4 separate regions of the Homo sapiens genome follow, and regions 1, 3 and 4 are each linked to region 2. The links are contacts of gene promoters, found by promoter capture Hi-C in blood cells and fetal thymus (Javierre and others, 2016). All regions are on one chromosome and are shown on one strand. The core of a region is centred on a gene start or on the middle of the fragment in contact, and the rest is flanking DNA. Distances in the headings are between cores, read along the strand shown.

Evidence for each region. The method cuts DNA at HindIII sites, captures the fragments that hold promoters and counts their contacts. A CHiCAGO score of 5 or more calls a contact.
Region 1: a fragment that was not itself captured here is called in contact with the fragment with the promoter of KLHL6 in region 2 in 1 of 17 cell types (activated CD4 T cells); the score reaches 5.6 in activated CD4 T cells.
Region 3: a contact is called between a fragment that was not itself captured here and the fragment with the promoter of KLHL6 in region 2, in 11 of 17 cell types (M2 macrophages, activated CD4 T cells, M1 macrophages and 8 more). The highest score is 16.1, in M2 macrophages.
Region 4: a fragment that was not itself captured here is called in contact with the fragment with the promoter of KLHL6 in region 2 in 3 of 17 cell types (M0 macrophages, M1 macrophages and M2 macrophages); the score reaches 7.7 in M0 macrophages.

Annotation. Positions count from the first base shown.
Region 1 is chr3:183,092,959-183,099,888 of GRCh38, forward strand. MCCC1 (methylcrotonyl-CoA carboxylase subunit 1) reads right to left here and starts at 6,538. Exons shown (of 19, transcript NM_020166.5): 1 at 6,394-6,538; 2 at 1,601-1,647. The coding sequence starts at 6,482. RefSeq lists an enhancer at 6,464-6,603. The HindIII fragment of the contact is 810 bases long and covers 4,021-4,830 here.
Region 2 is chr3:183,551,376-183,558,266 of GRCh38, forward strand. KLHL6 (kelch like family member 6) reads right to left here and starts at 4,331. Exons shown (of 7, transcript NM_130446.4): 1 at 3,986-4,331. The coding sequence starts at 4,278. KLHL6-AS1 (KLHL6 antisense RNA 1) reads left to right here. Exons shown (of 2, transcript NR_046687.1): 2 at 678-951. RefSeq lists a silencer at 1,191-1,360. The HindIII fragment of the contact is 8,561 bases long and covers 237-6,891 here.
Region 3 is chr3:183,121,471-183,128,009 of GRCh38, forward strand. It overlaps LAMP3 (lysosomal associated membrane protein 3), which reads right to left. Exons shown (of 6, transcript NM_014398.4): 6 at 745-2,744. The coding sequence ends at 2,611. Among named protein-coding and RNA genes, the nearest start is that of MCCC1, 25 kb to the left of the region's middle. The HindIII fragment of the contact is 1,275 bases long and covers 2,844-4,118 here.
Region 4 is chr3:183,183,626-183,190,102 of GRCh38, forward strand. All of the region lies in intron 27 of MCF2L2 (MCF.2 cell line derived transforming sequence-like 2), which reads right to left. Among named protein-coding and RNA genes, the nearest start is that of LAMP3, 24 kb to the left of the region's middle. The HindIII fragment of the contact is 1,360 bases long and covers 1,013-2,372 here.

The DNA.
Region 1 (6,930 bases), core at 3,176-5,675, 460 kb before region 2:
TCTCGGCTCACTACAACCTCTACCTCCCAGGGTCAAGCAATTCTACTGCTTCAGCCTCCTGAGTAGCTGAAATTACAGGTGCCTGCCACCACGCCTGGCTAATTTTTGTATTTTTAGTAGAGACGGGGTTTCACCACATTGGCCAGGCTGGTCTCGAACTCCTGACCTCAGGTGATCCACCTGCCTTGGCCTCCCGAAGTGCTGGGATTACAGGTGTGAGCCACCACACCCGGCCAATACTAACTAATCTTTAATAAGCACTTTCTGTGCCTCAGGTCCTGTGCTAAAGACTCAACATCGACTTAAATTTTCACAATAATCCTAATGAAATAGATACTATCATTGTTATCTCAATTTTAAAGATGAAGAAACTAATGCTGAAAGAGCTATTATTTTCCCAAAATTACACAGCTAAAGAAACAATCTGGGACTTCAACCTAGATCTGCGTCACTCCAGAATTTAAGCTTTCAGTCACTCTGCTCCTCTGCCTCTATCCCTATGTACATAGGTGTGTGTGGTTCTCTTGCAACACAAGTGACTCTTGTACCAGTCTACTGGCATGGCACCATAATGACAAGCTACTGCATATATAAAATGTACTTCTAATATCACACGTGAAATAAATGTTCTTTGACAGTTCATAATAAAGTTATTTCTTCAATAGAATCCATAGGCTCAACATAATAAAGTTATTTCTCCTTTTAAAAAAAAAAAGGTTGCACCTAATTTAAAAGTGTTTTTCGATGGGGCTCTATGGAGCCCAAGAGTTGTCACAGGGGCTGATGGATGACATATGTATGAGTGTGGGCAGGGGAAGGAGAGCACAGTAGGTAGAGGGCTATATCCAATCAGCTAGAAGTTATACTTTATTACACTTTTATATGTTTCATAGTTGGGAATTCCATGTTAAATTTTATTTGGAAAAAAAGGTTTTGCTACTTAAAATAGCTTTTTCAAAGAACTGCTTTAGACCATCGTAGTTATGATTTTCCAATCCAATACACTAAGAGGGTCAAATGGACAGAAAGAACAAACGAATATAAAATGTTCTCCATTATTGCCCTCTGTATTTTATTTATTTATTTTTACTTTTTTTTTTTTTTTTTTGAGACGAAGTCTTGCTCTGTCGCCCAGGCTGGAGTGCAGTGGCGAGATCTTGGCTCATTGCAACCTGCGCCTCCTGGGTTCAAGCAATTCTCCTGCCTCAGCCTCCCAAGCATCTGGGATTACAGGCACCCGCCACCACGCCCAGCTAATTTTTGTATTTTTTAGTAGACACAGGGTTTTGCCATGTTGTCCAGGCTGGTCTCGAACTCCTGACCTCAGGTGATCCACCCACCTCAGCCTCCCAAAGTGCTGGGATACAGGCATGAGCCACTGCGCCCGGCTGCCCTCTGTATTTTAGACTTAACAGCAAGAGAGATTTGATACAAAAGAGGTGAAAACCATGACTTAACACTTCCTAGAAAATTATCGTGAAAATCCAAAATTTATGATAACTAATTCTATTATGCATATATTAAGGGATTAAACATTTCCCTTTCTTAAACACTTCCAGTCTGAAGCAAAATCAAATAGAACAACAAAGTCTGTCAGTACCTGTGGCTGTTGTGTACTTCATGGTTCTTTGCCTCCACACCCATGTCCTATAACATAAATCCAAAAGGAATTACAATTAAACAGAATAGGCAACACAATTGTTCTTTCAAAAGAATTTCAGTTTCTTAAAACATGAAACCTTAAGCCAACTAACAGTGCTTTAGTAAGACTTTCTTAGTGGGTAGAAAACTAATCTAGAACTCAAGAGTTAGAGTTCTGGCTGTTTTCCCTCGTACTACCTGTCCTTGAATGAGTCACCTAGCCTGCTTGTTCCTGAGGCTGGCATAAGACCACAGTCAGAGATGATTAAACAACCAAGGTATACCAACATCATCTAGTTTAGCTTTTTTGAAACCTTTTTGGCTACAACTCACAATACAAACTACCCAGGACACACACTTAATGAAAACAGATGTTTTGTTAAAAATGACTCATTCTGCCCTGGCCAGGCACGGTGGCTCACACCTGTAATCCCAGCACTTTGGGAAGCCGAGGCAAGCAGATCATGAGGTCAGGAGATTGAGGCCATCCTGGCTAACACGGTGAAACCCTGTCTCTACTGAAAACACAAAAAATTAGCCGGGCGTCATGGCGGGCACCTGTAGTCCCAGCTACTCGGGAGGCTGAGGCAGGAGAATGGCGTGAACCCAGGAGGCAGAGCTTGCAGTGAGCCGAGACTGGGCCACTGCACTCCAGCCTGGGTGACAGAGCGAGACTCCGTCTCAAAAAAAAAAACAAAAACAAAAAGAACAAAACTCTTTTGGTTCTTTCAGTTGTATCCTATTTTATTAAAATATGCTGGTCAATCTACAGTTTGAAAAATACCAATCAAGTTTAAACATGAGACATGTTTAAAAAGTAAGACCAGAGAAATAAACGGAAGTTAAACAGGGGCAACAGAAAGAATGTTGGCTGTGGGACCAGAAAAGCTGCATTCTCATCCGAGTCCCTCCAATGACCAGCTTGCCCAGGGTCGAGTCACTTTACATCAGTGTTTCTCCAACTTTTTTTTCATTATTACTCTCCTAATGAGAAAACTTTTAAAAGATTTTATTCCTTGTAGGAAGGGTGGGGTAAGGTTGAGCTTTGGAAAGCCGTAAACCATGACAAAATCTAAGATTTCCTGGCTCTCCTAAGAATCAATTTCCACCCTTTAGCGGTGGTATCATCCCAGTTGAGGATGCAAGATTTAATAGCTTGGGCTTCAGTGTTCTCACACACGAGATGAGACTATAAGAGGTGATCTTGAAGGTACCTCTCAGATTTAAAAGTACTATACAATTCTATTCCAAGTCCTTGTATTTAAAAAAATGGAGAAATGGGGAGACAAAATGACTTGAGGTATTTTAATGAGGTAGAAGTCTCAACAATTTTTAAGTTTCGTGATACCTGTGTATAAAATAAAGTAACCAAGAGCTGACAGAAAACAGGCCAGATTCACTTTAGGAACAAAAAAGTATAACGTCTATTAAGTTTCAGCTAAAGAGGATAAGTGGGCTGGGTGCAGTGGCTCACGCCTGTAATCCTAGCAATTTGAGAGGCTGAGGTGGGGGGATTACCTGAGGTCAGGAGTTCGAGACCAGCCTGGCCAACATGGTGAAACCCCATCTCTACTAACAATACAAAAATTAGCCAGGTGTGGTGGTGCGCACCTGTAATCTCAGCTACTTGGGAGGCTGAGGCAGGAGTATCACTTGAACTTGGGAGGTGGAGGTTGCAGTGAGCCAAGATCGTGCCACTACATTCCAGCCTGGGTGACAGAGTGAGACTCCATCTCAAAAAAAAAAATAAATAAATAAATAAAAAGCATATGCAGGGAAACAAACAAATTACAGAAGCAATTCCACCTATCTTTTTGTCTATACCTGGAAGATGTGGTTATAAAGGACTAACTAACCATTTTAGATTATTCACAAAGCACAAGATAAAAGCACAGCGTGTGCATTAGAAACTATGTAACTAGGCAGTAGTATATACATATTATGTATATGACTATGTAGTTGAGCAGGACTAGTATTTCACTGGAGCGGAGATGCAGTAGACATCTACACATCTATATGCGTCTATACACTCATTGCCCTACAATGCACACTCAGATGCTGCCATCCATGAGGAGCTGCTGGGAAGACCCACAGCTTTGGCAGGAGAGTTCCGTGAGCTAGCTTCCTCACGAGGCTGCTGCTTTCCCACACCTTTCCATTTCAGCTGATGTTACCTTCTTGATCCTGAAGGAGGGGGATCATCTTTCCTGATCTTTATGAGGTATTTTCTAGCTCATAGCATCGTCTTCCCTTTACATTCTTCAGATAGGCTTCTGATAAGTTTCAAGGCCTATTCTGGGCAGATGTATCTATTAAATGGTTGCTTGTTGGTAAAGCTAGCTTAAGACTGATTCGGTTTCAAGGCTACTGTTGACCTAAAGCTTTCTTTTGCAATCTTCTAGTGAAGACAGAAGAAGGGAGAGAGGGAAAAAGAGGGAGAAAGAGACAGAGATCCCACTTAACTGTAATCCACTATCCCAACAATGTTCTGATCATCTATTCCATTTTTCACAATTATCTAAGCTGCAACTTAAAAGCAATGGCTTAAACAAGATTAAGAAGCTGCTTCCCCGGAGCTTGCAGTGAGCCGAGATTGCGCCACTGCAGTCCGCAGTCCGGCCTGGGCGACAGAGCGAGACTCCGTCTCAAAAAAAAAAAAAGAAGCTGCTTCCCTGATTCAAGGTAGCTCTATACCAGCTTATTGTCATGTCTATAATTCTGCCACCAGAGATTATTTTCTGTGAGCTACTAAAGATTCATAACATAAAAATAATGTAAACTATCTGTGCTGTTAAGATTTTTTTGTTTTTGTTTTATTTGAGATGGGATGTCACCCAGGATGGAGTACAGTGGTGTGATCATGGCTCACTACGGCCTGGAACCCCTGGACTCAGGCCGTCCTCGCCCTCCTCATCCTCCCAAGTAGCTGTGACTACAAGTGTGTGCCACTACGCCTGGCTAATTTTTTAATGTTTTGTAGAGATGAAGCCTCACTGTGTTGCCCAGGCTGGTCTTGAACTCTTGAACTCAAGCAATCCTCCCACCTTGGATCCCACAGTGCTGAGAAACTGCTGAAAATACAGGCATGAACCAAGTCTCCTGGCAAAGAGTTTTACTTCTATAAGCCATTAACAACTCTAACACTCTCCAGAGTGACATACTTGAGGATAGTTCTTTAGACAATAGCTAAGCTTTGAAAGGGAAGACAGGAAATGGGTCTATGGTACTATCCTGAAGAGCCCTGGAGGCCTAAGAAAAGAAAAACCAGAAGAACAAGAAGAACATTAACATTACTTACACCAACTTTTTTTTTTATTTTTTTATTTTTTATTTGAGACGGAGTCTTACTCTGTCGCCCAGGCTGGAGTGCAGTGGCGTGATCTTAGCTCACTGCAAGCTCCGCCTCCTGGGTTCACACCATTCTCCTGCCTCAGCCTCCCGAGTAGCTGGGACTAACAGGCGGGACTATAGGCGCGTGTCACCACGCCCGGCTAAATTTTTTGTATTTTTTAGTACAGACGGGGTTTCACCGTGTTATCCAGGTTGGTCTCGATCTCCTGACCTCGTGATCTGCCCGCCTCGGCGTCCCAAAGTGCTGCGATTACAGGCGTGAGCTACCGCGCCCCGCCAACTTCCAACAACTTTCTTATGTTTCTCTGGGGCACTCCTACAATTAAGTAACTAAAAAGGGCATCTACAATATTTCTGGAAAATAAAAGCAAGCAAACGTTCATATAAATGGTTGAGTTTGCATTTATAGACTGATCTTATGTACCAGATTGTGCTTAAACCTCATTCCATGAATTAATTCATTTAGTTTTCACAACCCAAGGTACTCGTATCATCTCCAAGGTGAGGAAATTAAAGAAGAAATATTAAGTAACTTACCCAAAGTCACACACCTAGTGAGTAGCTAACTAAGACCTCAGCCTTGACTGCAGAGTCTGTGCCCTTGAACACTAAACTGTCAATCTTTCCAGAATGATGAAGGATGATAACGATGAAGCAAAAGAAGACAAAGAAGCAAAGCTATCTACAAGCCTGAGGGTTTTTTCACTGCCAGAGTTATTGCCACCAAAGCTTAGAGCTCAAAATTTGAAACAGAGCTGGAGTCAGGTGAGCTAGACTGAGTCATCTGATAGCGTTGTTCAAACTTGGGTACAAGAGTTTTTGACAAAATAATTTCCCAGCTCTGTGGAAGGTACATTTGCTCTTCTTGACAACTTCACTCTTCTAACAATGAGAAGGAACTCCAGGAGTCTTTCTCTGAACTGGACACCTGATGGGGCACAGCTGAACTGAAAAATGGCTTTGAGGGCATCCCGGCCCCATTTCTTACTAGCTGTGTTTCGTTGAGGAAGTCGTTGATCCCTTTGGGCTTCCCCGGAACCGGATTATAACAACGCTCCCACCTAAGGGGTGCTGCGAAAGCCCGATGTAAACGGCTACGAGCTGCAGCGACGGCGAGGGGAGCCTGGAGGATGGCGGGCCCAGTCCTCAGAAATGGAAAAACAGAAGCCAAAGGCGCGCTGAAGCGTGGATGTGCGGAAGCGGGGAGAAAGGGAAGGGCTGGTGGGGATGTCTTCCTCCCGACGCCGTGACTGCCGGCAGAACCCCTCCGAAAGTGCCTGGGGTTTTCCTACCGTCCTCCCCACACCGACCCTGGGTTCCGCCGCACCTCCCACCGCTCACGCGGGTCCGTGCACCCCTCGCTCCCGCCTCTGCCCACTGAGCCATGGCCCCTCCACCCACCTCGGCGGCAGGAGCAGGCTCGGGAGACGATGCCACCGGTTCCTCTCCGCCGCCACCAGCAGCACCGACACCGCAGAGGCCGCCGCCATGTCCCTGGAGCCCGGCCACTCCGTGACTCCCCAGTACAGAGGCAGCTGCGTCCCACACGCCAAACCCGTTCCTCCACTACGAAGCCTCGTGACCCCCGCCGGCCACCGTCGGAGCCTGAGCCTACCTTTGGGCTGATCCAAGAATGTGAGGGCGTCTCCACGAACACCAATCAAAGACCAGAGCCCGGCTTCAGTAGCGACGATTGGGCAGTCTGGCCACGTGCTCGTGGGGGTGTGGCCTTTGTTTCTGCGTCCCCTGGGGCCTGCTCTGACTAAGGCAAGGGTTTTCTCCATCCTCCCCCTCTTGGTTGCCTGTCACTGTTTCTTCCTGCATCCCGTGGGGTTTCTTCGCTCTCGTCACCTTCTGGGAGAAGAACCCTGGGGAAGAAGCCAAATGCGGATGGACAGCAGGATACACAATTCTCTAGTGCTCTCAGGGATGAAAAAA
Region 2 (6,891 bases), core at 3,081-5,580:
TGTTTGATGCATTGGACCATATGAAAGATTTTTGTGAGCCTGTGAGCAAAAGACACCCCAAAACAAAGCAAATGAAAAAATGAGTGAATTAATAACTTCAGGAAAGACAAAAGGTTTACAAGAAAAGAAACGTGATCATTGAGTAATTTGGCTCAACAGAGAACAAGGTTTTCGTGAACATAATAATGTAAACTCTTGTTGTGATAACATTATGTTGAAAGATTACAGGGAAGGAAAGCTTATGGTAAGAGGTTAGGTAAGGATACTAAATCCTTATTTGAAATCAGTGAATGATGTCTAACACTGAAAAATCAAGAAAGAGCAGTATAAGTGTATTTTGCAGAAATATAGAGCTAGTGCCAGAAGAAACAAATAGAAGTTGAAAGTGGTAGCCTTTGGCGCATGAGACAGGGTGGAGGAGGAAATAGGAATTTTTGTTTTTTCATTATAAGCCTTTAAATACTATTTAACGCTTTGTTTACTATTTGCATATCTTTAATAAAAAATAAAATTTAATTTTAAAAAAATACATGAAAAACAGAAAGGCAGTGAAGAGACAGTTCAACAAAAAAAGAACTGCAGATGCCCCTTAAACATACGAAGAGATGTTTGATCTTACTAAAAATAAGAAAAATGCAAATTAAAGCTAAATTGAGATATTCTTTCTCATTTATCAGATTGGTAAAACTTCAGCGGTTGGATGACACCCTCTTTTGGTGATGCCGTGGGGGAACGCAACATGATTCAACCCCAATGAAAGAGAAGTTGCAATAACCGCTAAGACTGCAGATGCATTTGACTCAGCAAACCCCCTTCAAGAAATGCATATGAAAAAAACTCATGTTTCAGGTTATTCATTACAACATTGTTTGTAATAGCAAAATGTGGATTAGAAATAGTCCAGATGTCTGTCCGTAGGGGACTGTTTAATAAACTATTGTCAGTCCCTTAGTGGAAAGTAATTATTTTCTCAGTGAATAAAGGAAAAAAATGACATAATTTTATAACCAGCTTCCAGGCCCTCCAAAACACAGAGAGCTGTGTTGAAAGCCTCACAGACTGGTCGGGCGCGGTGGCTCACGCCTGTAATCCCAGCACTTTGGGAGGCCGAGGCGGGTGGATCTCGAGGTCAGGAGATGGAGACCATCCTGGCTAACACAGTGAAACCCCGTCTCTACTAAAAATACAAAAAATTAGCCGGGCGTGGTGGCAGGTGCCTGTAGTCCCAGCTACTCAGGGGGCTGAGGCAGGAGAATGGCCTGAACCCTGGAGGCGGAGTTTGCAGTGAGCAGAGATTGTGCCACTGCACTCCAGCCTGGGCGACAGAGCGAGACTCCGTCTCAAAAAAAAAAAAAAAAAAAAAAAAAGAAAGCCTCTCAGACAGAGAGACTCTTTGACCTCCCTAAACCTGAGCATACGAAGAACCCCTTTCAAAACCTCAGACACAAAGCGAGAGAGTGTGTCAGATTTAACGTCAGTCCTAGGTCTAAATCCCAGCTTGGCTACTTTTTATTTGCTGTGACACTCTGGACTTTGGCTCACCGTCGGTAGGCTGGGGATAGGACTCCCTGCCTTGTCAGGTTGTTGTGAGGGTGGAGTGGACTAGAGTATGTGATACAGAAGCTACAGGGCCTGGCCCACAGTAAGCGCTCCACAAACAGGAGTTGATAGGAATAGTAGCACCGGAAGAAAGAATCCTGTCTCCAGGACAGTATTCATTGTAGAAGGAAAGTCACGTTGAAAATCCCAAGAGAAGAAGCAAAAGTCACTTCTCTGAAGAGAAGAATTGAAGGAATTTCCTCTCATGACCAGGCAGTTTTGGGAGAGGCTCTGTATACACAGTCAGATGCCTTCACCCTCATGTTCTCCAGCTTCTCATTGCCGTTGCCTCCTCTGACGACCGGCAGAGACTTTCCCTAAGTATCCTGGATCAGCAGGGCTGGAAGGACCCAAGCCCAAATTCCCATTTAGGATGAGAAACCCAAGAACCAGAGAAGACCAGTGATCAACTCGAGGGCACACAGCCAGCGGGCCTGGTCCACAGCCAGGCCAACCCGCTAACAAAACTGCTTCCAGGTATGCATTTTATGATAGCAAGGGATACAAAAGGATCAACCTAAATGTGCGTCCCCAGGGCATTGAGCTAACTTGACTTCACTCACTCCTGAGAGGGGCTGCAGTCAACGTGAAAGCACGTGATCAAGGTTGGTGGAGAAAGTAATGTGTTTATATCAACCCATTTTGATGGCTGTGTTTACACTTTATATTTTACACACTTCCCATGGAATGAAGTCCCAGACCTAGTGGCAGCTTGCATTGCAGTAACAAGGATTTCCAGAACATACCCAGTCCCTGCTCCAGCAATGACCAGATATATAATGCTGAGTTTTCATTTCCTCATCTGTGAAATATCAGCCACCTTCATCATGCTGTTACAAAAATAAAATCAGATAACTATGTCTGTCTGGCACACAGCAGCCACTGCTTCCCTCAAACCCAGATATCCCCTTGTCTTATCAACACAGGAGACCTAATGAGTCCCACAGCAACCTGCTGATCCTGCTCTATGAATTACAAAGAAACGTTTCCCCCCAAGCACCTCAAAAAAAAAAAAAAGAAAGAAAGAAAACGCTTTCCATAATACTTTCATAGGTTAATCGTTTTCAATTTCCTCAGCCAGAATCAAGAGTTAAGAAGAATCTCATTAAGAAGAATTCTAAGGGTATTTCTTTTCAAGTTCCCAAATACTTTCTTCATTATCCACATTGCCCTTGCAGGCTGGTTCCCCCATGTCCATGCTGATATGGAGAACACTGGATCAGGTGTATTCACTGGGTTCCCAGCGCTATAAAATTCCTACCCCAGGGACGTGCTCATGGGAAACACTCAATAAGTCATCCTTAGCTGAATCAAGCAGAATCAGAAAAAGAATTCCAAGAAAGATATATTGAGCATCTACTTACTATATGCTAGACACTGTGTAGGACCCTTTTCACGCTCTTGTTTAATTATGACAGCCCTGAAAGGTGATCATCATTGTGCTCACCTTACAGATGATGAAACAGACATTCAGAGCACTTTGTGACTTGCCTAAAGTTTCACTGTCAAGAAGGAACCAAGTCTCCTGACTTCAGGCCTTCCCACTATGAGATCACCAGTTTATCGTAACTAGAGGCCTCTCCCATCTAAAGCATCTTTGTAACTGCTTTCCCTTTCCCCACACTGCCTACACATAAAGAAGCCCCTAATTTGTAACAAGTCATTTGACAACTCCAGAAGAGGGGCCACATCCTTTTTCTCTATGTCTGTTGATTAACAAAGACAACATTATGTTTCCAACACCAGTCAGACCAAGGGGGAAAAAAGTCCCCATGACTTCAGTAATTTTCCATCCTTTGGAACAAGGAAATATACACAAAAGGTTTACTATAGAATGTAAGCATTGCTTTTAAATGATGCCAATCTCTCTTTTAATGTGGCCTAAATCCTAAAATTTAAAGTGTGATAAGCCGGGCGCAGCGTCTCACACCTGTAATGCCAGCACTTTGGGAGGCGGAGGCGGGTGGATCACCTGAGGTCGGGAGTTCAAGACCAACCTGACCAACATGGAGAAACCCCATCTCTATTGAAAATACAAAATTATCCGGGTGTTGTGGTGCATGCCTGCAAATCCCAGCTACTCGGGAGGCTGAGGCAGGAGAATCGCTTGAACCCAGGAGGCAGAGGTTGCGGTGAACCGAGATTGCGCCATTGCACTCCAGCCTGGGCAACAAAAGCAAAACTCCGTCTCAAAAATAAATAAATAAATAAATAATAAAATAAAGTGTGATAGTGTCCTTTCTTATATTTTAAGTAGACACACAAGCCTTAATATATATGTAAACCATAAATATCATGGCCAACTGTTCAAGATTGGGCTCTCACACTAACACACCTCTTCCTTGCAACTTGCACCCAATTTGACTCTGGTCCTAGGCATGCTGACCTGAAATAGTTGCTGGCTGCGGCAAGCACCACGCGGTGGCAGGAGAATTCCTGAATGTCCACACACAAGATGACATCTGTCAGAGCGTTTTCCATTCGCAGGGTTTCCAGGCCATTCTGAAGAATTAAGGAGAGTCCCGCGTCGTCAAATTTGACCTTTTCCCCATTTAAGATCTCGACCAAGTCTCCTGTTTTCTGGGAGGGCTCATCTGTAGAAGGTGCCAGGGGCCCTTCCAAACTCTTCTCGACCACATCACCCATGGTCCAGGCGCCCCTTTGTCCTGCCATCAACATCGAGACTGAAGGAGCGCCCAAGTGTCAGGCAGGCCCCATTGCAGGAGCTGAGCGGATTTCCTGTGCAGGGCCCTCCACTTATCACCAGCTGTCACACACACATAACAGGAAGTCTCGCACTTTCTCATCCTGTTACTACAAATGCCAGCAACTTCTATTCTTCTTCTTTCTGTGAGTAATCACAGGGTTAGAAATTACTTAGAATAGGTGTGTGGGAGGGGGTTCTGGAAGAGGAGTGTCCTCTCAGAGTCCACTGTGAGTGCTGTGTGTTTATTTTGGTGCATCTCCCACCTCATATCCGTGAGCAGGAAGCCTCCGGTGGTGGCTGTTACATTTGTACTCCTAATGCTATCAATAACCCAAGTCGTCAATGAGGGGATGGACAGGAGACAGTCTATAATCCTCCTGCTTCACATTTGTACTCCTAGTGGCTCAATAACCCAAGTCGTCAGCGAGGGGATGGACAGGAGACAGTCTATGATCCTCCCACTTCCTCCTCCCAGGAGTCTGAGACCCCACAATGATCCAACAACCGTGCTTTGTAAACCATGGAAACCCCACTTATCCCTGACATTCTCATTTCTGGCGGCACTGCAGATCGTCTATCTTCATCCTCCTCCCTACCCAGGGGAAAACAACGTCATGGCAAACTTTCATGTCTTCCCCCACCAAAAAAAATGTCTATTGTTTCGAATATGCTTTGGGGGCACAGAAGAAATGGTTTCCAAAACTCCATCAACAGCATCTTCTCAGAGGATGAGTCAGGGTGGGTCTACACCGAATTGCCATAGCACGTCTCAGATTAGCCCAACATCTACTGACCGTGCATCTAACGGTGGATCCTGAAGTATTTTCATTACCTCTGCATGTCTCAGTTAAGTAGTAATAACTGTCATTATTAAAATCCCATGATATCCTGGGGAAGTTATAGGAGCGTATCAGTTAGCGTTCTCTCACGCCCAACAGTAATGCTTTACCAGGTTGCTAGGTATTTCTTAGCCCAGCAAACTTGACATCTAAAATTAACCATTACAATTACAGTCATACCCAGCATAATGATATTTCAGTCGATGATGGACTCCAGAGAGACAGAACCAAAAGGATACCTAGAGAGGCATAGCAGAGGGAAATTATTAGGGGAATTGGCTCACGTGATTATGGAGACTGAGAAGTCGCATGACAGACTGCTGAGAGCTCAGTTCAAGTCCAAAGGCCTCAGAACCAGAGAAGATGGTATAACTCTCAGTCCAAAGCCAAAGGCCTGAGAATCCAGGGGGTGGGGAGACTGGTGTAAGTCCTGAAGTCCAAAGGCAGGGGATCCTGGAGTCCTGTTGTTCAAGGCAGGAGATGACTGTATCCCAGCCTCAGGAGATAGAGACATCGACCTTTCTTCTGTTTTTGTTTTCTCTGGGCCCCTGGCTGATTGGATGGTGCCCACCCACACTGAGAGTGTATCTTCTCTACCGAGTCCACTCAGACTCACTAATCTCTCCTGGAAACAACCTCACAGACACGCCCCATGGTAATGCTTTAACAGGTTGCTAGGTATTTCTTAGCCCAGTAAACTTGACATCTAAAATTAACGGTCACAAGTACAGTCATGCCCAGCACAATGACATTTCAATCGATGATGGACTGAATATACAATTGTGGTCCCAAAAGATTATAATGGAGCATATAAAGAAACCTGACGGCCGGGCGTGGTGGCTCATGCCTGTAATCCCAGCACTTTGGGAGACCAAGGCAGGGGGATCACAAGGTCAGGAGCTCAAGACCAGCCTGAGCAACATGGTGAAACCCCCATCTCTACTAAAAATACAAAAATTAGCCAGTCGCGGTGGCGTACACCTGTAATCCCAGCTACTTGGGAGGCTGAGGAAGGAGAATCGCTTGAACCCGGGAGGTGGAGGTTGCAGTGAGCTGAGATTGTGCCATTGCACTCCAGCCTGGGCAATAAGAGCGAAACTCTGCCTCAAAAAAAAAAAAAAAGTCATGGAAAAATAATGCCATTCACAATGGTAATAAAACATATGTAAATGCCTAGCAATAACAGCAACCAGCAACATAAAGAAAACTAACAAACTTTACTAAGAGTTTCGAAAGAAAACTTAAATAAATATACCAAGTTCCTTTATGGAAAGACTAAATATTATTAAAAGGACCAATTCTTTCCGAATACATTTATAGGTTTATTTTACTCTAATAAAAATTACAAGAAAATTTGGAGTTTAGGTTTGTTTGTTTGTTTGTTTTTGAGACGGAGTCTTACTCTGTTGCCCAGGCTAGAGTACAGTGGTGCGATCTCAGCTCACTGCGACCTCCGCTTCCCAGGTTCAAGCGATTCTCCTGCCTCAGCCTCCCAAGTAGCTGGGACTACACGCATGCACCACCACACCTGGCTAATTTTTTGTATCTTTAGTGGAGACAGGGTTTTGCCATGTTGGCCAGGCTGGTCTTGAACTGCTGGGCTCAAGCGATCCACCCGTCTCGGCCTCCCAAAGTGCTGGGACTACAGGCTCACACCACCGCACCTGCCCCAAGTTTAGGTTAAATGTAAATGAACAGTATCAAGATAGGTTCAAAGCACAGTGGGACTATCTGTAAAAGGATAAA
Region 3 (6,539 bases), core at 2,231-4,730, 430 kb before region 2:
ATAGTATGTTTCTTCTGTGATTAGGTTATAAAAATATGACGGCTTTCATCTTGGTCAGTCTCTCTCTCTCTCTTTTTTTTTGAGATGGAGTCTCGCTCTGTCGCCCAGGCTGGAGTGCAGTGGCATGATCTCGGCTCACTGCAACCTCTGTCTCCCGGGATCAAGCGATTCTTCTGCCTCAGCCTCCCGAGTAGCTGGGACTACAGGTGCACACCACCATGCCCAGCTAATTTGTTTGTACTTTTAGTAGAGACGGAGTTTCACCATATTGGCCAGGTTGGTCTCAAACTCCTGACCTCGTGACCTGACTGCCTCGGCCTCCCAAAGTGCTGGGATTACAGGTGTCAGCCACCGCTCCCAGCCCTCTCTCTCTTTCTCTCAGATCACTATGGGTAACTAATATAGGACCTCTTATTTATCTCAGCTCCTACAAGAGTATCTGGCATTTAGCAAATCCTTATCAATGCTGATCAAATGAATGAATGAACAAACGTGGCGACATTTAAGCAAACTAGTAATGCAGTCAGTCTAAGCTAAGAGTTGAGACATTTCATATGTAACTTTAATGTGGTTTATCTTCTCAGGAATTCCTACCAAGTGATAATGTGGCAATGGAGAATAGAATGAAACAAATTATAGAAAGATGATTTAACTTATTGATCGGAGCAAAAACCTAAGATGATTGTAAACAAAATTTATACAGCACAAAAATGAATCATAAAAAATAAATGACATGCACAAATCTCCAAAGTAAGTTTTTATTACAAAAACCTTTACTACAATTCAATGTTTTATTAAGACTAAAGTCAGGACCTTGCCAACTTACTGAGTCATAAGGAAACACATGAGGAAAGTCAACATGGTCTCTAGGCTGACTTGAATTATTCCTTGACTAAGAATTCTAGGGTTATGTGGACTTTTCTGTTAACATCCTGACTTAGTTCCTTTCTTTAGCAGCAAAAAAAACAGCAGAAATAAAATTCTTGGCAGGCTGCTCTACAGAATAAAGTGAACAATAGGAAATATGGATATGAAGTGCAGAAGCAGCAAGTTACCACAAGATGGGGCTATACACTCAAGAAAGAACAGTTGGTTAGCGAAGTTTCTCTATTATCAAAAAAATTTAAAAATACTTTGAGTTTATTTGATGCCTTCATCTTTACAGCCCAGCTAAGCAATCCCATAAAAATGAGCAACTGACTAATGTTTTACAAAGCCCCTCAGTCTCCTTCCAGAGAGTGGAGGATTTATTAAGGATAGGCTATTTTGTTATCTGCAAAGCTCTCCTTTCATCTACCCTAATGTCTCATGATCCTGGATAAACCCATTTCCCTGTAAGGTGAGCGTATGCTGGTATGAGGTGTGAGCCTTCAGGCAGAGTGTGGTGTCATTGTTCTTGTAGGTAACTTGGTGTAGGGAGAAGACCAAAGACCTTGATGTCAGACCAACATGAATTCAAGCTCTGGCTCTGCCATCAGTTAGCCAGGTGACATTTAAGTGATTCAGTTCCCTTAAGTCTCAGTTTACTCATTCACCTATAAGTTGTGAGAATGAAATGAGATATAGATAAAGTGCTTAGCCTAGACTCTGGCACTTTGTTAATAATTAAGGGCCATTATTATTGTCTCTTGCTTATTGTTTAGTTCTACCATCTGTAGCCACCTAATTCTTAGTCTAGCGATTCTGGAGCAGGAGTCATCAAGATAAAAAATATAAGCTGATTTGTTCTTTTTGTTGGTTTTACATAAAAACACTTAGACAACCTGAGATATGTTGTTCTTTTTGATGATTAAAAAAAACATTTAAGGCCGGGCGCAATGGCTCATGCCTGTAATCCCAGCACTTTGGGAGGCTGAGGTGGGTGGATCACCTGAGGTCAAGAGTTCAAGACCAGTCTGGCCAACATGGTGAAACCCCGTCTATAATAAAAATACAAAAATTAGCCAGGCGTGGTAGTGTGTGCCTGTAATCCCAGCTACTCGGGAAGCTGAAGCAGGAGAATCACTTGAACCCGGGAGGCGGAGGTTGCCATAAGCCGAGATCGTGCCACTGTACTCCAGCCTGGGTGACAAGAGTGAAACTCCGTCTCAAAAAACAAAAACAAATTTAAAGTGGAAAAGGAGTTAAGTGCTACACCAGGAATATGTATGTTACATGAAACCATAAAACACAGATAGTAAAAGCACTGAAAGTCCATTTGATAACAAAGCAAAGGCTTTGTTAAGATCAAGGGTAAAATAAAATCTTCAATGCACACACAGTAGTATTAGTTACAATTGACCCTTGGTTTATAATTTGAAGGCTTATTCTACTTTACATATATTATGTTAATTCAACATATCTCAAATGTTGACTTTGAGTGGCTAAAATATTCTAAAGGAAACTAGAAAATAAACAGCTCACTATATCTTTCATAAAATAAACAAAAAGTATTTAGAAATTGATGTGCTGCCTGAACTTAAATCACACATGACTCACTTCATTTGAATAGAAGATGGTGGTTTACATTGTTTGAAGGACCCACACTCTGAGGGAATTTCCCAACATCCATCCTGGAAGGGATGAAAGAGTTCTCTAAATTCCATTATTTTCATTCCCCCCGGGCAACAATTAGATTCTCTGGTATCCAGATGATTGACACCTTAGGCGGATTTTATAGACACCCATACCCATAAGGCAGAGACCAACCACGATGGCCCCAATCACAGGAAGCACAATTGTGTAGTCAGACGAGCACTCATCCACTAAGAGAGAAAACAAATACAATACAGTGGGTAAGGTTTGGTGATGCAGTCCAGAAAGCAGGCTAGAGGGGAAAGAAGATGAGCTTTGGCATCAAACAAAGCTTGACTTTTAACTCCACCATTAACTAGCTTTGTGACCTTGGGCAGGTAATTTACCCTTGCAATTTCCTAATTTATAAAGTAAGCAAATAATATGTAAGACTGTCAGAAGATTAAATAACCATATTTTCTTAGTAATTAACATTCAATAATCATAATCCTTATTTCCTGAACTGAGTAAGAAGTCACTCCAGGCATACTCCCTGCTAAGTGGGATATGCTTACATAAAAGAGACCAGCCGGGCACAGTGGCTCACGCCTGTAATCCCAGCACTTTGGGAGGCCGAGGCGGGCGGATCATCTGATGTCGTGAGTTTGAGACCAGCCTGACCAACATGGAGAAACCCCATCTCTACTAAGAATACAAAATTAGCCGGGCGTGGTGGCACATGCCTGTAATCCCAGCTACTCGGGAGGCTGAGGCAGGAGAATTGCTTGAACCCGGGAGGCAGAGGTTGCGGTGAGCCGAGATCACACCATTGCACTCCAGCCTGGGCAACAAGAGCGAAACTCCATCTCAAAAACAAACAAACAAACAAACAAAAAACATTTGTGTGACCAGTGACCAGATTACAGATGATCTCTTGAGAAACATGATTTTTATCCACTTTATAAAACATTTTTGTCACTCCTAAGGTTCTATTGTATTACTTTTAGCTAATATTAGAAAACAGACCAAATTATTTATGAGAGCTTAAAAGTGAGAGTTTACAAACTTATCAAGACTGTTTTTTCTTTATACCATTAGAAAACGCTTACTCAATTCATTTAATGTAATTGATTGGGTCAGAGACTAATAAATCTCAACCGAGGAAAGACGGAGGGGTCTGGGGTAAAAGGGGAAGTTGATAGAATACTCTAATGAAGAGACTGGGAGAAAAGAGCAAATAAATGAAGAACCATGTCTTAGTCATTATAGCTAAAAAGATACATGTGTGAGGTCATTGTACGAACTAACACTGAAATTATGTCCTGAACCAAGGATCACCATCAACCCAATTCAGTGTACCTGAGATCTGAGAAAAAAAGTATCAGAAGAGGTCAGAGAAGACAGAGTGGCAATTAATTAAAGATTCCAGGAAAAAGAAAATTTGGACAAGAAAGAAACTGTGATTGTAGTACACGATTTGGCTTGACAGCAGACAATATTTATAAAACTATAATAATGTGTGCCTTAATACCTTACTGATTTACCCAAAAATAGTTGTGTAACCACAAATCTTTATGTGCTATAGCAGGAAGTCTAAAATGGATCAATTAGGAACTATCATGATAAGCTTTTATTTTTTAGAGTTATGGAGATAGCAATCAGAAGAAATTGTTAAAATTAGTTAAAAGTATCTTGTATCTTGGGGCAGGGAGGCAGAGGGACAGAGAAATGTTGCTTTCCATGATAAGACCTTTTGGAGTACATGAAACTTTGTTACTTATATATGTTTCTCTTTTTTTGCAGCCTGGAACTCCTGACTTCAAGCCATCCTCCCACCTCATCCTCTTGGGACTAGGGGTGTGTGCTACCATGCTGGGCCAATTTTTTATTTTTTACAGATGGGGTCTTGCTATGTGGCCCAGGCTGGTTTCAAACTCCTGGGCTGAAGCAATCCTTGACTTCCCAAAGTGCTGGGATTACAGGCGTGAGCCACCACACTTGGCCTATATTTCTTAAACGAAAAAAGAACTTTGACAAGTTAAGGAATTAAAATGAGTGGGAAAAAATACAAAAAGTTAAAACAAAATGTAATGCACACACCTGTTGACCCAATAATTCTATCTCTAGGAAATTATCCCAAAGATATATTCATACACTATGCAAAGGTATATTACAGCACTGTCCATTTTATGAGACAATTTAAATATACGTAAAAACTAAAATAGTATTCAGACAATAGAAAATAATATAGCCATTAAAAAGAACGTGGTAGGTCTCGGTGTTCTGTAACAGAAGTTCCTTAAGCTCCGTGAAGTATCATGTGAACCCAAACCCATGTGCTTGTGGGTCCAGTGTGAAAAGATACACCAAAAACTGGCAGGAGGACTGGGAAGGAAGTGGAGGGCAACTTTTACTCTCTCTTGTTAAGCTATTAAATTATTTAACATTGTTTAAACATTTCTAAAATGCAAAAGAGTACACAAAGAAAAGAAGTGACTGATCCAATCACCCCATTTCTTCTATTTGAATCAATCACTATAAACCTTTTTGGGCATGTAGTTCCTCTGTGAATGTGTGTGTGTGTGTGTGTGTGTGTGTGTGCACACGTGTGCATGTGTGCAAACTCACGTGCATGCTTAAAGCAAAATCACTCTATTTTAAATAGTCTATTCTCATTATAAATAACTAAAATAATAGAGAAAAAGCACAAACAAAAAAGTAAAACCAATTACCCCAAGACCATCCACCAAGAAATGTCATTGCTAATATGGAGAAACATTATTTCAGGCCTCTTTCTTTAGAACTACAAGGATAGATAGGTTAGAAAAATAAATAGAAATACTTTTATTAAGATAGGATCATACAAGTACTATTTTATTACATTTGTTAATTTCAATTTTACTTGTGTTTAATAGGATAAAAGAACTTGAAGGAATTATCACAAACCAATGTTTCTTTGTCATGGGAAATATTGGTTCATAAAGGGTCCCTTTAGAGTTCTAAAAAGAGATTATGAAGTATGCATTAAACAATTATGAAATACATTAAGAGGTTATGAAATAAATTGGACTTGTGTTTACTAAACTTCGTTTCCAGTTTAAACATTATCTATTGATACTGTTTTGAAAGAGTAGCACTAACAGAGTCCCTTCCATCTCCCCTCTCTTCAACTCCCCCAATTTTTTTTTTGAGACAGGGTCTTGCTCTGTTGCCCAGGCTGGGGGGCAGTGGTGCGATCATAGCTCACTGAAGCCTCCAGCTCCTGAGGTCAGCCATCCTCCCACCTCAGCTTCTCAAGTAGCTAGTAGTACAGGCAAATGCCACCCCACTCAGCTACTTTTTAACTTTTTTGAAGAGATGGGGTCCTTACTATGTTGCTCAGGCTGGTCTTGAACTCCTGGCCTCAAGTGATCCTCCAACCTCGGCCTCCCAAAGTTTCAGGTGTGAGACACTGTGCCCAGACAACTCCAAATTTTGAATAGTTATGTCACTGTTTTTAACATTGTCTATGTTTTTTTTTTCTTTTTTAAAAAGTAAACTGATTTTATTGTGAAATTCTCATAGATGGAAAATTAAATCAAACATTTATTCTGTCCATTTCATTTTATAATAACCTTATCACTGATTTTTGTACCATGCATTTCAATGGCCTGTTAAATGAAAAATGTTTTAAAAACTTTTAATTTTTGATGTTTTTAGCTTAAATTTTTTCATTAAGAAGCCCACAGTGCCAGCAGCCGCCCCCCAAGCCCTGTGTGAACAACGTTTTGGTTGCTATTTCAACTTAAGGAAACAATCTTTGACCTTGATCCATTGTCCAGGTTTATGACACTTCAATTCTATTTGATAACTATCATTCCTGTAGTCTTTAAAATGTGTTCTGACTGGCTGGGCACGGTGGCTCACGCCTGTAATCCCAGCACTTTGGGAGGCTGAGGCAGGTGGATCTCAAGGTCAGGAGATCGAGACCATTCTGGCTAACACAGTGAAACCCCGTCTCTACTAAAAATATGAAAAATAAAATAAAATAAAAAAATAACCAGTTG
Region 4 (6,477 bases), core at 443-2,942, 370 kb before region 2:
GGAGATAATAACATCGATTTTGCAGTCTTGGTATGAGGATTAGCAAATCTTCTGATAAAGAAAAATGCCTGGTACATCATAGGAATTCAACAAATAGTACCTGTTATGATTATTGTGTATAGCAATTACAATAATACTAAAGAGAGGGTCTCAAAACAGCTCTGGGCACTCCAGGTGTGCTATTATTACTTACATTTCAGGGAGGTTTGTCTGCCATTGTCTCATCCTCATAAACACTCAGGGAAAGAAACATTATAAGGATAATAAATGGCTTTAAAAAGAAACAGAGCAAACACACACACACACACACCCCTCAGAAAAACCATGCCAAACACACAGGCTCTTGACAAATATTCAATCTGATTATAGCAAAACTGTTTTGTTTTGTTTTGTTTTTTTGTTTGTTTTTGAGACAGGGGTCTCGCTCTGTCGCCCAGGCTGGAGTGCAGTGGCGTGATCTTGGCTCACAGCAACCTCCTTCTCCCGGGTTCAAGCAATTCTCCTGTCTCAGCCTCCAGAGTAGCTGGGACTACAGGCACATGCCACTATGCCTGGCTAATTTTTGTATTTTTAGTAGAGACAGGGTTTCACCATATTGGTCAGGCTGGTCTCGAACTCTTGATCTCAGGTGATCCACCTGCCTTGGCCTCCCAAAGTGTGAGATTACAGGCGTGAGCCACCATGCCCAGCTGATTATAGCAAAATTCTAAGTGATAGTTGTATTCTTGGAAAATGAATGGAACGACTTTTGTCCCAGCCAAGATCTAGTGGTGTGTTGGAGCAGATACACCCTGAGTCTCTGGGGCACTCTCAGTCTATGTATCAGATAAGCATAAGGAGTATTGGTGGAGAAGGACAAGAATGGGAAAGGTGGGCGATGAGAATTCCTGCAGATAAGGACTGGTGAGAGTATTCTCTTTTGAAACCCTTAGTCGACAATCTTTCTGGTGCATATCAGATAAGCTGAATGGTTTAGGAAATCTAGTGTTCACATTTAGTGCTTAGAATTCTAAGCTTTTTTATTTTGCTTAAACAAATGGAATGAAATTTATTAACAAGTGAACCTAGTAATGAGCTGAAATTATTCTCACCAGCATACATATTTTTGGTAAATTATAGACTTTGAAGACAAAATCATGGTGTTTCCCTTACTGTCCAGTGGATGGCACAAAGAGACCATTGTAGATCCTGCTGGTTCAGCGGTAGCTCTCAATCCATAGATATTAAATGGGCAAATTCTATTTTTATTGTCTTTCAAACTAGATTTTTCTCAATGCACAACTTTTTTTTTCTTTTTCTTTTTTTTTTTTGAGACGGAGTCTCGCTCTATTGCCAGGCTGGAGTGCAGTGACACGATCTCGGCTCACTGCAACCTCCGCCTCCCGGGTTCAAGTGATTCTCCTGCCTCAGCCTCCTGAGTAGCTGGGGACTACAGGCGCATGCCACCATGCCCAGCTAATTTTTTTGTAATATCAGTAGAGACAGGGTTTCACCATGTTGGCCAGGATGGTCTCGATCTCCTGACCACGTGATCCGCCCACCTTGGCCTTCCAAAGTGCTGGGATTACAGGCGTAAGCCACCGCGCTTGGCCAATTATGCACAACTTTTTAAGGACCATCTCTATCACATGAACTAAAGGATATCATTTTCACTTGGGGGTGGGAAGTGGTGAGCTGCTTAAAAGCAATGCCTAAACCCCCTGGGCTTTCCTTCCTTTCACTTGGAAGAACCAGGGGGTAACTAACTGCTAACAATTCCATGCTTTCAGAGATCTAGGCGCAAGCCTAAGGGCTTCATCTCATTTAATCCTCATGGCAAGACTGTACAGTATTATCTCCATTTTGTAAAATGAATGATAAAAAGAACTTAAGCACAGACAGGCTATAGAATCCATCCAAAGAGATGGAGCTGCACTTGAGGCTGGGTCTTTGAGACCTGAGTTTGAGCCCTTCATCATTGTGTTGTGTGTGCTGCTAACCAATTTCCCCTCTCTGTCTTCTAGGATTTAATACATGGTGTCACATTCTGTCTGATCCATCCCAGTAGCTCTCCAGAGCTCCCAACAGGAGAGAGTTCCAAAATGTTTCCAGGGGTACTAGGCTCGGTTACAATATTTTGCTTGGTGGCCCAGAGTATAAACGTGGATATCTTAGGCTGGTCTATAGCTGAAACGTCTATTTCATTTGCAAGCCTATCTTTGGCTAAGAGGAAGTGAATCATTCTTGAGAACATCTAATTAATTGCTTTCAGATTCCACATGTTGACATTCTCAGGGCACATTTTTTTTTTCCCGTGCATTTCTGTTGTCAAAGTCCCTGCCAGCTCCTAAGGCAGTCTGAGCTGGCTGTCTTAGACTTTCAGAGCTGCTGGAAGCTTGGGGGAGGGAGGGGCTGTAGGTCAAAGAAACTTTATAACCTAGCTTTACCTCCCAGCTCAGCCACCAGCTGCCCTCAAATGTTCTGGATTGGAATAAGCCCAAAGATGAGTGGCAGGAGGGAAGGGCAAGCCAATACGTCTAGTTTGGTTCAGTCAAAGCCTTGCCCATTTCATCAGAATTTTAATGGAAAATTTCCAATAAGATTAAAATATAAGGTCACCCCAATTTTAGTATGGCTCCATTTAAAAAAAATCATGCATATCTTTGTTTTGCAATGGGGCCTTACTCTTGCCCAGGAGAGGTGCGGTGGTACAATCATGGCTTACGGCAGCCTCAACCTCCTGAGCTCAAGCAATCCTTTCACCTTGGCCTGCCAAATAGCTAGGATTACAGACACCCACCACCATGCCCAGCTAATTTTTAAAAAAAATTTTTTGTAGGTCCAGTGCAGTGGCTCATGCCTGTAAATCTCAGCACTTTGGGAGGCCGAGGCAAGCGGATCACCTGAGGTCAGGAGTTTGAGACCAGCCTGGCCACAATGGTGAAACTGCCGTCTCTACTAAAAACACAAAAATTAGCGAGGTGTGGTGGTGGGCACCTGTAATCCCAGCTACTCGGGAGACTGAAGCAGGAGAATCAATTGAACCTGGGAGGTGGAGGTTGCAGTGAGCCAAGTTCGTGCCATTGCACTCCAGCCTGGGCAACAAGAGTGAAACTCCGTCTCAAAAGTTTTTGTGGAGATGGGGTCTTGCGATATTGCCCAGGCTGGTCTCAAGCTCCTGGATATCAAGTGATCCTCCTGCTTTGGCTTCCCAAAGTGTTGGGATTACAGGCATGAGCCACCACAACTGACCAAATCATGCATTTCTATAGACAACGTCTGCAAGAAGATATTAATGGTGATTATATCTGGTTATGTTGGATTTGTATTTTTATTTGTACTTTCCTGTATTTTCTAAATTCCTGACATTCTACATGTGTACTCCTTTAATAATCAGAAAAGGAAACTTAAAATAGTTAAAACCAATTGGTCAGATATGTAAAATAACCCACCATCTCTCCAGAGAGGGCTGTTTGCTAGAACTTATTTTCTTCATTGAAATACTAGAGTGCCCCAATAAGTTTGAATAACACAAAAAAAAAGATAATGAAAGTAACTAAATTATCTAGGCCCAAAAGGAAATGCCACAAAAATTGGCAAAGAAACAACCATGACGTGCTATACCGGATAGCTCCTAGGCCCCCTTGGAGACCCTGAGGTACCCGACGAGGGACCTGTAGTAAGGCTGGCAGACAGGTTCTTCCTCTGTTAGCTCTGAGGTACAACAGTTATTCTCATTTTTATGTCTTTCACATGGCCAGAACTTTGCAAATCAGAGGCAAAGTGAATTCAGAATTAAAAATTTTCAGCACCATCCAAGTCAGTAAAACAGTCTTAGCTTATAACCTTTATTTTTTTTATTATTTTATTATTTTTTTATTTTTGGATGGAGTCTTGCTCTGTTTCCAGGCTGGAGTGCAGTGGCATCATCTCAGCTCACTGCAACCTCCGCTTCCTGAGTCCAAGTGATTCTCCTGCCTCAGCCTCCCGAGTAGCTGGGACGACAGGCATGCGCCACCACGCCCAGCCAATTTTTGTATTTTTAGTAGAGACGGGGTTTCACCATGTTGGCCAAGATGGTCTCAATCTCTTGACCTCCTGATCCTCCCGCCTCGGCCTCCCAAAGTGCTGGGATTACAGGCGTGAGCCACCGCGCCCAGCCCTTTATTTTTACTGTAAGCTGCCAGTAAACAGCACACCCACCTGTCTGCTGACTGTCCCATCTGGAAGTTGTGTAGGTCCTTACTGAATCTTACCTTCTTCCCTTCCCCTACCCAGACCCCATCCCAGCTGGCACGTGGAATCCTTTCCCTTTCTCCTCATGTCAATAGACCAGCAGGCAAAGAGAGCAGTTACCATAGTGGAAGGAGAAACGGGTCCTAGTCGTGGTGAGGAGGTAGGGCTGCTGCTTAACAAAGGCCGAGAGGGACATGTCTGATGCTCAGGTGATCCACTAGGACATCTCGCAATACTCCCATGCCCAGCTGTAACTATGATGGCCAAGTCCAAGAACCATAGCCTGATAAGAGTCTAGGACCCCCACTATACATGCCACCAGTAGAAGTGCCTGATGGGGAGAGGGATGTCTAGAATGAGTAGGAGGGAATGATGACAAAGCACAGCCAAGGACCAACTGCAGTGGCAGGTGGCAGCCACAGATTGAGTTAAGTAGGATTCTTGCTGTGTTCCCTAGTGGAAGCATCTCCCTTGTTGAGACCCACTGAGGTTAAAGTTGGAGACATGGGGAGAAAACAATGTCCCCGTGTTCATCACTAGAGTCATGATGGGCAAGGTCACAACTCATTTGACTTCTTGGCTCCCAGATTCATATACTCTGCCTCTTGGGGGCACTTCACCATAATACAGCCATTGGTTCAGTTGTATGCTGCATCCTGAGGGACAGCACTCCATCCCCGCAGTGCCATGTCCAAACTGCTGCCCCGCCTCACTCTCAAGAGGCTGTCCCACTACTCTGTCAGGCACCAGCTTCTGAATGCAGTGGTAAGACTCTGTCCTGTGATCACGTCTATGGCTGATTCTCTTTTGCCATACTGAGTCCCCTGATCAAAGCAGTGTTATACAGCCTGGCGCGCTGGCTCATGCCTGTGATCCCAGCACTCTGGGAGGCAGAGGGGGATGGATCACTAGAGGTCAGGAGTTCAAGACCAGCCTGGTCAACATGGTGAAACCCTGTCTCCTCTACTAAAAATTCAAAAATTAGCTGGGTGTGGCATGAGCCTGTAATCCCAGCTACTCGGAAGGCTGAGGCAGGAGAATCACTTGCACCCAGGAGGTGGAGGTTGCAGTGATCCCTGATGGTGCCGTTGCACTCCAGCCTGAGCGACAAGTGTGAAACTCTATCGCAAAAAAAAAAAGCAACGCTTATGATTGATCACACACTGTACTTTCTAACCTGAAGGGGTCTGGTAAAATCAACTTGTCTTCTCAAGGGACAGTACCAAACTGGGGGCTCAGCACTGACCTCTGCTGGCATGTCGGACATTTAAAAGTGGTAGCAGCTAGAGCAGTCTTGAAGACATGGAGCCCTCACTGCTGGGGCCGAGCACTGCTGGGTTCAATTCTGCTACCAAGGCTTCTCCATTTCCGAGCCCATGGTGCAGGCACTGGGGTGCCTAAGAGGAAGTGCACTAACTGGACTTCTGCTATGCACCTTCTTTAGGGGGCATTAAAGCACAGTTCAAAGACTCTCACATTTTGAGTTAACCCCCACAGGCCTGTGTGCCCCTTCTCCAGTCAGGTCATGTTGTCATTTGATCCTAGTTATTATTCTGAAAGGGTTCAGGAAGGGAGGTGGGGACAGATCTTGGAAAGGGCAAACATTGCCTTGTATGCCTCATCTGAGGCTTCCGCATAGTCTTAGGGGACTGGGAACCGTCTTAAGTGAATCTCACCTTCTTCCCTTCCCCCAGCCAGGCCCTAGCCCTACTGGCATGAGGAATCCTATCTCTTTGTCCTCATGCCAGGAGACCAGCAGGCAAAGAGAGCAGTTACCATACTGGAAGGAGAAATGGGTCCTGGTCATCAGAAGGAGGTACTCCTCAAGGGACAGTACCTGAGGGAGACACTTCCACTAGGGAACACAGCAAGAATCCTACTTAACTAAATCTACGGCTGCCGCCTGCTGCTACAGTTGGTCCTTGGCTGTACTTTGTAGTACAAGGCGAAGTAGGCCACTGCTGCCAGCCCAGGAGGTCAAGGGCATTTACCCAGACATCCTCATTCCCAGTTTTTGGGTCCCTTATCTTCCCTCTCAGGATCTAATGACTCATCTACTGGCACTAGGAGTCCAAAATGACCAGATGGCAGACTCGCCTAGGCTGAGAATTCTTCCTTCTCTCAAATTCTGCCACTTTTACCAGCCCAGTCTGCCTCTGCTGTAGGAGATGAGAGGCTAAATGTTGGCAGGGAGGCCCCCTGATTCTGATCCTGTGTTTTAAATCGATAATTAGTCTGACCCTGTTACTTTCTCCCTTCAGT